3 separate regions of the Homo sapiens genome follow, and regions 2 and 3 are each linked to region 1. The links are contacts of gene promoters, found by promoter capture Hi-C in blood cells and fetal thymus (Javierre and others, 2016). All regions are on one chromosome and are shown on one strand. Each heading gives the region's core, a stretch centred on a gene start or on the middle of the fragment in contact. The rest is flanking DNA. Distances are from core to core; before and after follow the strand shown.

Region 1 (3,279 bases), core at 404-2,903:
TCTCCATCTTCACCCCGGAGTCCCTGAGGCGCCGGGAAAAGCTAATTAATAGGACACCGCGACGAGAGTCCCAAATTCGCTTCGGGCCGAGCCAACCTGTGTCTGGCGCGTGCTCTCAGCCACTCTGGGACAGAGAGGCTCTCGAGCGTACTACCGACGTCTCCTAAGTGTGCATTAAGAATCAATTATTTGCCTGAGATTTCCAAAGCCAGGAACTGGGATATTCCCAGCAGGGACAAAGTCAAGCCCAGAACGGTGTTCATTTCCCTAGTCTTTCGAAGAGACAGAAGAGAAGACTCCCACACGCACCCAGTGCCTCACCCGACCCGGAGCAGCCCGGCTAAATCCGACCGGGACCCTGGTGTGACCCAGGCCAAGGAGCTGGGGGCGGAGGGCCAGCTCTGGGGAAGGTTGGCTATGTTAGTGTGCAAATAGAGAAGGGCGATCCAAAGAAGAACTTTAGAGAGAAGCAGGTTCTTGGCTCTGGAGCAAAGAGCTTTAACTGAAATAAGGATAGCTAATAAACCTGTCTTTGAGCGTTAAGAACGTCCCGGAAGTTCCTGTAGCAACCATAAGACTCAGAAATCATATTTCCACGAAATGAATTAATTTACACTTTAGGACCTATTTCAGTCTCCCACTACCCCTTCTCCGTATAATTTTTTCTCGTTTTCTCTCCATGTTCCTTTGCCGTGTCTACATCCTTTTGACCTGGGGATTCACCGTGATTTCTGTCAACGTGGAAAAAAATTATGCATCCTTTCAGCTACGTCTGTTGGTAGCGAGCCTGCTAACATTTTCTAAGAAAAGATGAACACTTAAGGCCAGGACCCCAAAGTCAGGCGTTAAAACTCAGTCCAAAGCAGTCAGTTACACATATTCCCTACCCTACCCCTTCCCCTCTGAAAAGCACTTTCACTTACGGATCTTGCTGTAAGAGCCATTCCAGTCCTGATATCCTTTTCCTCGGCATCCTTCGGACAACCTCAGGCAGAGCCTTAGGTGGTGGGGAAAAACAAAAACAAAACACAGTAGAAATCGGGAGGGAGACAAGAGGCACAAAACATAACAATACATCATCTATTTGCCAGCCTGGAGCCCCCTTGGCCTACATCCTCAGGATAAGGTCCCTAGAACTGACCGCTAGGGTGGGGAATGGGTGCCTTTGGGAGCCAAAATCTGAGGTGGGTTATTTTAACTGCTAGTGATTGAGGGGAAAGGGCCCTGAAGGGAGAATAGAAAAGGGGAATGATTGGTATAGAGAAAAGAAATCTTAAAAAAAAAAAAAAAATGCACGCAAAAGAAAATCTAGCATGAAGTACTAACTGGGAAAGATCTCTAGCACCTTTTAACTCTTACAGGTAGGTAGCTCTTAGGAAGAATGCAGACGTGTGTGCCCAAAAGAGAGAATCTAGATGACCTCTATTCTTTCCATATCTCCAGGATCTGGACTTAAGTAGAAAAATAAAGAGGGGAGAATTTTAATTCAAGTTTCACCTACCCTGCTTGTTGGAATGGCTGCGCAGATTTTCATGCTGGAGAGTTCCATCTGTCTGGCAGAAGCTGAAGTGGTGTTGGGGGCAGGTTATCTGGTGAAGTAGGAATGTACAGGAACCCCGCCCTCTAGGCACAGTTACACAACCCCAGCAACCCATCTCAGCCAGTTCTAAAACCTCTAATGATCTTCACCTTCACCCTTTGTTAGTCTAATTCTCCAACAGGCTTTTAGTCTCAAACACAACCAACCACTTTAGCTGTTCATAAAATTAATTTCTCAAAACCAAAATTTTCCCAGTGCATGCAAATTCCTCAACAATGTTGTAGAAAATACACTTTTTAAAAAACTACACTTCTATAGACTTCTAAATATATTGAATTTATCCACGTATTTGGGTGAAATATGCACCAACTTAAATATATATTAAAATCAATACACTATGAGACTAAATTTTTGCCTCTCTGCCTTTGATTTTATGCAAGTCACATAAACTACATGAAGGCTTCCATGACCATAAGGATATTTGTATTAAACCTTGTTAGTTCTAGACTTCATGTTCACTTGGTTCCCAATTTTGTAACAGGCTGAAGAAACATATTTGAAATAATACTTTAACTCCTCTAGTTCAATTACATCATTTTCTCAGTGTTTTACATATTAATATTTTTTGTTAACTTTACAACAGACAAATTCAAGTAAAATACTTTAAACCTGGAAATAAACTTTAATTTGGGATTTCAAGTTTTAAGTTGTGATCAGTTTCAGTTCCAAAATTTCACAAAGGACAACCTTCATCTTATTAAAAACAATTATAATATGAAAGAAAATAATCCTCAAAAGTTTTGAAGTGTATTTCTGACATAAACTAATTTTAACGGTCAAAGTTGGAGACAACAAATAACACAACATTACAACCCGTTCGATGCAAAAATGTATTATATGCCATGCCAGACTGTCATGTGTTTTTTGAGAAGATAAGTTGAGGGATGATAAGATAGATCAAGGGAAATGAGATGTTCATATTGGGCTTCAGGAAGCCTTTACAAAGTTCTCTCTCCATATATCCACCTTCGTGTCTAGTACACCTAACAAACTTCTAGTCATATCCATTATATGTAATTTGGACATGGGTCCAAGCAGAACTCCCACTCCAATACTTCGTTTCTATGAATTCAAAGAAATCAGTTTTACTCTTGACTTCAAAGTATGATGTTTGCCATTAAAATTCTATTTATCTGTCACCCAAATAAACACTTATAAATACAAATAAGTATACTTATTTAATGTGGCCAAAAAAAATACTCATGCAGGAAAACTTTCTTCTATATCTATACCCCTTTACCTTAGCACAAGAGTTCAACTTTCTTTTTAACGTTTGGTAAGCAAAATTCTATGTTTCCCCTGTGATAATACATTCTTATTCCACAAATAAAATCCATGGCAAAAGCAAACAATAAATCATCACCTTTTTTTCAGCTTGGACACATGTCTCTCTTTGAGCTATTTTGGTTCAAAATGTGTAATGGGGATTTCCTTTGCATAAAACCATTCACTTGGACTTTATTACTATTTTTAATATCAGCCATAAATTTGACTTTTAACACAATAATTTTTTGTGAAATATTTTTATGCTTCATTCTGAAGAACTTAAATTTCAAGAAAATTTGGACCTCTGGTGAAACTGTTTTTATACTAAGAAAATAAAATCATGTCTAATTGCTTAAAGGAGATAATTAAACTAGCTGTCTTGGCTTATTTTTGTCCATTCCCCATTTGTGTAT
Region 2 (3,256 bases), core at 229-2,728, 750 kb before region 1:
GTGATTCGCCCGCTTCGGCCTTTCAAAGTGCTGGGATTATGGGCGTGAGCCACAGCGCTGGGCCATAAACTTTTTACAAATAATAATGGCTATAGTGTTAAGCTTCTACTAAGGGCAAGGGCTATACAAATATCATGTAAATCTCACTAAAGCTCTGTAATTAGGTTACTATTGCTCTCCTTTTTCAGAAAAAGAAACTGATGTGTGTGTGTGTGTGTGTGTGTGTGTGTAATTTTTAAATCTAGTAACTACTTGTCCAAACATAGGTCTGGCTATTTTCATAGTTCTACATTATAGCATCTTCTTAAGAAAAATTTTAAGATTTATTTCTTCATGGAAAGCTGTTTTAACCTAAATTTTGAAAAGAAAACAGTCTTCAACATTCTTTTTGTGTTCTAAAACCAGAGAAAGTTAGATATTCTTGGCATAAAGCAAAGGTTCAGAAATAAACTTTAAGAAATATACACCAAGTGCCCTTTGAAAAGCTTTGCTGTCTTCCGCCTTCTGAATACATGTATGTTTAAAACCCATAGAAAGTCAGTGTTGGCCCATGGATCATACAGTGATGCACTCACTTTTTACTCTGGGCAAGTCATTGGACTGCTTTAGTAATTGTTGGTTTTATTTTAAAATTTAAAATTAACATTTGCTTCTGGGAACTCCAAAGATGACTACACAATATAACTGAGATCATTTATTAAAATTATCAATAATTGTGAAGGAATGACTAGGGCTAATTCAATGTGTTTATTATATTTAACTATCTCACTGGAAAATGTTCTATGACTCTGGAAGTTTTCAAGAAAAGATTGAAAAAGAATCTTTTCACATCTACAAACTCCCTCACCATGTACTCCACCATGTACTTACACCACCAAAGTGGAGATCAGTGACAGTAGAAGGAAAGTCTTTCCTAAGCCAGAAGAAATAGTATTGTCACACGTTTTTCTGTCTAAATTGCAATACACCCCATAGCTTATTAAAAATAGATGAGTTAGTTTCATCAGATAAAATATAAAACTGATTTTTTTAAATCAAAACTGTTACACTTTGGATATATGAAATTGTTTTAGAAAAAAAGGAAAAGTGTAGCAAATGAAGGAAAAGGCAGTTGCATTTTTGGAGATTGTCACAAGAGGGCATTTATGGATTAACTCTACGTTTTTTCTACATTTGAAAATACTGAAAGGCATTTCCAATTCTCAGAAGCAAACTAAGAATAATTAATTAATTAAAAATGAAAAGATGAAAAAGACAGTCTCTAAAATTTTTCTTTTATATTAATTCTGCTCCAGAAAATTGGTTGTTTTTTAGAAGTTTGCATCAAATGAAAACCGGCACGTATTTATAAATTTTAGATGTGAGGAACTCATTTCTCCAAAATATTGAGATCCTAAAAAATAATATCAGCTGAAAAAACTACTTATATTTTGTTTCTAGCATTTGTTTGTATACCATTGAAAAACAAATATTTAAAATAAATCCTATTATTTCAACTGATAAAGGGTAATTGCATTTTTAAAACATGATTTTCTCCTTTGTGCTGAAAAACAAGCTAATTAATATTCCTAAGTATTTTGAAAACAGGTGCCATTTAGAGAATACGGGCACAAATGTCTTAATAAAATAATGAAAATCTTAGTTATATTAAGAAATAGGCAAATTAAATTACTAGAAAGAGAATGGTATGGGGCTCAGTTAAGGGGAAATAAATAAACTGAAGCAAATGCTAAAATATTTTTACTCATGATATCTTGAGCCCTTTAAAAGCAAGGCCTCTGATGTATTCATCTTTGAAACCCCAGTCCTAGCACGGTGGTGGGCATGCAGTAGGTACTCAGTGAATATAGTTAAATAAATAAATGAAACCATTTCTTTAACTGAGGATAAATTTAGAGGTGGCAAGGCAGAAGAATTTTCCGTGATTATTAATTAAATCAATGACTTTCTTATTGCATTAATTGATGTGAAAACTTCAAATGCAAAGGGAAAATTTCATTCAATCACCTGGGGCTTTCAAATAACTGCCGAGTTGGTGCCATATAAACAAAACATTAGGAGAGCTAACGCGATCATATTTAATCCTCAAGAACAAAGAAGATGCAAATATGGACCAACACTGTGTTTTATGCAATTTGGGAATCCTGGAACTACAAAACTCTTCATGATTATTCAGTCTATCCCAATAACACCCAACTTATATCTTTATGTAATTTTTACCCAGTTTATCTAATAATTTATAATTTTTTCAGCAAAAACAAGTAATGGGCTATTAGAGTTTTTAATAAACATCAGATAATCATTGTCATCATGTGATTTTATTTAATTTCAATCAAAAGTAAAGAGAGGTTATATTTTAGATAACCTGCAGTCTTTTTACAGGAAAACAATACAATTTCCTTCAGGCATTTTAACATAATTAAAACACATTTCAGATTTGTTTTCCTACTTATGCTAAAGCACAAGCTTTTGAAAACCATTTTCATTATATCATACTCATGAAAGACAGTAAAACTTGGAGAAACAGTTATTTGGGTTAAATAGCCCTGGATTCAGAGGTTAGCTCCAATAATTGTTGGGAATATGGTTTTCTCTAAAACCGTTTTTCATCTATGAAACTGGGATAACATTGCCTGTTTTGGTAGATCATTCTAGGTAGTAAGTTTTAACATATGTAAATTGCCTGATAAGTAGGAAGTAGTCAGTAAATGCCAGACTTTATAACTAAAGAATCACAAATTTTACAATCCTTGTTGAGAAATTTGAGAGTGTGGCAGATATAGAAATGGTCACATAATATTGTACATACACCTTTAAATTTCTCATGTACCCTTGCAATGGGTTGGGACCATGAGAACAGTTCTGACCAATTGGCTATGGTTGGAGGGATGTATGTCACATTCTGGCCAAGGAAGTGAAAAGCTATGAGCCCCTTGATCAGTATTTTTCTCTATCATGGTGGCCCTTGAAGCATGTTACCGAGATGGTGGTATCTCAATACAACAAGGCTTTCCATATCTGGGTCACTGATTGACTAAATGCAGTAAAACATTTGCAGACCAGTATTAGACATGTGCAAGATATGAATATTTGTTGTGTTAGGATATTTAGGAATTAGATTACCACTACAGCATACATAGCCTAACCTGACTAATAACATGATCTAACCAAAACACTTCATTTTATTAATAAGGACAGTAACGTCCAGAGAAGTCAGTTTGTATAAAAGCCAGTGGAACCAGGAGGCTGAGGCAGG
Region 3 (2,796 bases), core at 194-2,693, 790 kb before region 1:
CTATTTGGATCTGTCTTTTGTGTGCACCACCCAGTATCAGTTTAGGACCCAGGTAGTTTACCCCATAATCTAGTTCTCAAAAGCTTTGATAAGCTGCTTAGAGTCAGATCTAGGTATTATAAACTGAGACCGAGCCCAGAAGTTTATACCCAACTTCCGGAGTTACTTTCTTGAGCTCCCTCCTCTCTATGATCTTCCTGATACATTCTGTTTTTCAGAAATCCCTTTTGTGATCTTCTGGCTAGAAAGCCAGGGATTTAGATTTTCTACTCCTCTTCATAATTACTATGACTCTGAATTTCTCCAGGACCAACCAGCAGGATACATAGAGAAAAAGTAACAATGGGGCACCTTTCATACTTTTGGGACCACAGTTCATCTGGCAAAAGAAAAGGGTTCCCTCATTTAGAGTTATTAGTGACTGCCTGACAGTCACTGCCACTGCTGTCACAGCTGTTTCAGGATTGCCTCGGTGGCTCGGGTGAGAAACAACAGTAAAGGGAGAAAAAATGACAACACGAGATTTCCCCAGTCTCTCTCACTCCAGTGGGCCTCCTTTCTGCTCCTTAGTCAAGAAATAGAGTTTCTCTTGGAGGTTTTCCTGCTGACATTCAATGGGCACTCTCACATTTTAGGCTGTCGTTGAGTTCATTCCCAGAAGATGTTAGAGAATTAGAATGGGCAATTCATTGCTGATTTGGTGATGATTCAAGTTCTGGTTTCTTTATCCAGTAGGCCTGCTACCATTTAATCTTCAGTATCCTCGGATAGCTGCCCTGTGCAGTATGTCGAGGGCTTTTAGTTGCATTTGGGGGAAGAGACAGGGTGGAATGTGTTTACCCAATTTTGACTGTAACCAGAAACCAAAGTTTAGATTTCTCGAGTCCTAGTCATCAAACCAATCTTGAAAGTATGCTTTAGTCTAGAGCCTAATATAAATGTCCAAACAATAATTATATGTAACACTTAGGTAGCTAAGGTGCCAAAAACTCAAGCATTTCATTTAACCTTTGTCATAATTCTATGAGAGTTTGGTAGACGTTCTATATATTTCCACAAAAGATAAGTGAACTCTGGTACAAAGATATTAAGTAAATTGCCCAAGGTCACATAGCTAATTGCTAATGGGGTCAGAATTTGAACCCAGGTACTCTGCCTCCAGAGTCCAAAGTGTTAATCACTACACATGTTCTAAGTTCTCTATTTTGTTTTGCTTTGTTTCAGCATACATGATGTTGCACACTTCTGGAAAAAATTTGAACCTGATTGTTATTACTACTGGCTTAACTTATATTACCCCAAGTATAGGGAGAAATAAGGATTAGTTGACAATGAGGTGATATTACTACTTCTGAGATGGGCCAAGGAAATACTCTGGGAATCAAAACAATTTTAAAGCCCCATTGATACTTTTTTTTTTTTTGAGACTGAGTCTCTCTATGTCGCCCAGGCTCGAGTGCAGTGGCGCAATCTCTGCTCACTGCAAGCTCCGCCTCCCGGGTTCACGTCATTCTCCCACCTGAGCCTCCCGAGTAGCTCGGACTACAGGCTCCCGCCACCTCGCCAGGCTATTTTTTTGTATTTTTTTAGTAGAGACGGGGTTTCACCATGTTAGCCAGGATGGTCTCGATCTCCTGACCTCGTGATCCGCCCGCCTTGGCCTCCCAAAGTGCTGGGATTACAGGCGTGAGCCACCGCACCCGGCCGCCCCATTGATACTTTAAAATGTGTGTTATATCAGCTGAATTTATTCACACAATTCTCCTCCCAACCCCCAGATTTTTAACCTCTAACGTTAAATAGAGAAGGTCATAAAGAGAGGTTTCTGCAGGAATCATTCACTGCTGAGGAAAAAAAAGTTTCTTAATTAAAACAATCAGTAGCTTTCACGTATTCATAAAATTAACTTTCTAATCAAGACACTAAACTAGTGTTATAAAAAGTGAAATCTATGGAGTAGGGCTGGTCATTGGGCACTACAAAATAAGTACAAAAATTGAAAGTAAATGCTTAGGAATATTTAAAACAATTTAGTAGAGTAATTGTATGCTGTTGAATATAATAATAAAAAAATTGGAATTGTATTTTATTGTCCTTTTTATTTTATTCTTATAGCAATTCATTTTAGTATGTTTTCCAAAAGTATAACTATGCAATGAATTAGAAACTTTTTTAAAAGTGATTTTTCACCACAACCAATTTGAGTCATGCTACACCAAAGCACAGGGCCTGCCTTCCTATTTTAAGAGATCCAATGGCAACATTAATTAGAACACAGGATCCTTGACATGGTTTTCTTTCTTCAACTCTTCTTAACATTTCTCAAAAGTGTGCAGGGAATTTTACGTAAGACTGTGTTTATTTGTAAGAGACAAAGGTCTGGCGAAGGATCACAAGAGCTCATTCTGAATCTGCCTCAAAGCTGGTGTTTATACTCATCATTTCTTCTCCTTCAAATTTAGGCTTGGAGAGTAAGTCCTTCTAGTTGCGTAGGAAGGGCCTAACAGCTGCTGTAGCAGGTGTGAAACACTGAGGCCCAGAAAGGTCCCTGCCTGGGGTTTGTGGGGAGCCAGAATATGCCACCCTAAAATATGAAGAATAGGTGAGTTGAAGACAAAAAGCAGCAGATGCAAGAAAGCTCTCTGCTCTCCTCTATTTGTCTAAAAGCATGACACACATTTACAAACACAAAAGGTATCCTGCCGCCTCTTCTCCCAGAGAGAACAAGATTAACCACTGAAGATAACTTTGGACCTTTATGGTCCTGGAGATAGCACAAGATACATCTGCATTAAC

What was found. Contacts are between HindIII fragments. The CHiCAGO score rates a contact against its expected background, and 5 or more counts as called.
Region 2: a contact is called between a fragment that was not itself captured here and the fragment with the promoter of LINC01551 in region 1, in 2 of 17 cell types (endothelial precursors and M2 macrophages). The highest score is 25.8, in endothelial precursors.
Region 3: a contact is called between a fragment that was not itself captured here and the fragment with the promoter of LINC01551 in region 1, in 2 of 17 cell types (M0 macrophages and M2 macrophages). The highest score is 5.6, in M0 macrophages.

What each region holds. Positions count from the first base shown.
Region 1 is chr14:28,771,078-28,774,356 of GRCh38, reverse strand. It overlaps LINC01551 (long intergenic non-protein coding RNA 1551), which reads right to left and starts at 1,653. Exons shown (of 3, transcript NR_026731.1): 1 at 1,502-1,653; 2 at 924-997. RefSeq lists an enhancer at 1-66. The HindIII fragment of the contact is 5,790 bases long and covers 1-3,279 here.
Region 2 is chr14:29,516,406-29,519,661 of GRCh38, reverse strand. No RefSeq gene overlaps it. Among named protein-coding and RNA genes, the nearest start is that of PRKD1, 410 kb to the left of the region's middle. The HindIII fragment of the contact is 1,981 bases long and covers 488-2,468 here.
Region 3 is chr14:29,556,758-29,559,553 of GRCh38, reverse strand. No RefSeq gene overlaps it. Among named protein-coding and RNA genes, the nearest start is that of PRKD1, 370 kb to the left of the region's middle. The HindIII fragment of the contact is 2,716 bases long and covers 86-2,796 here.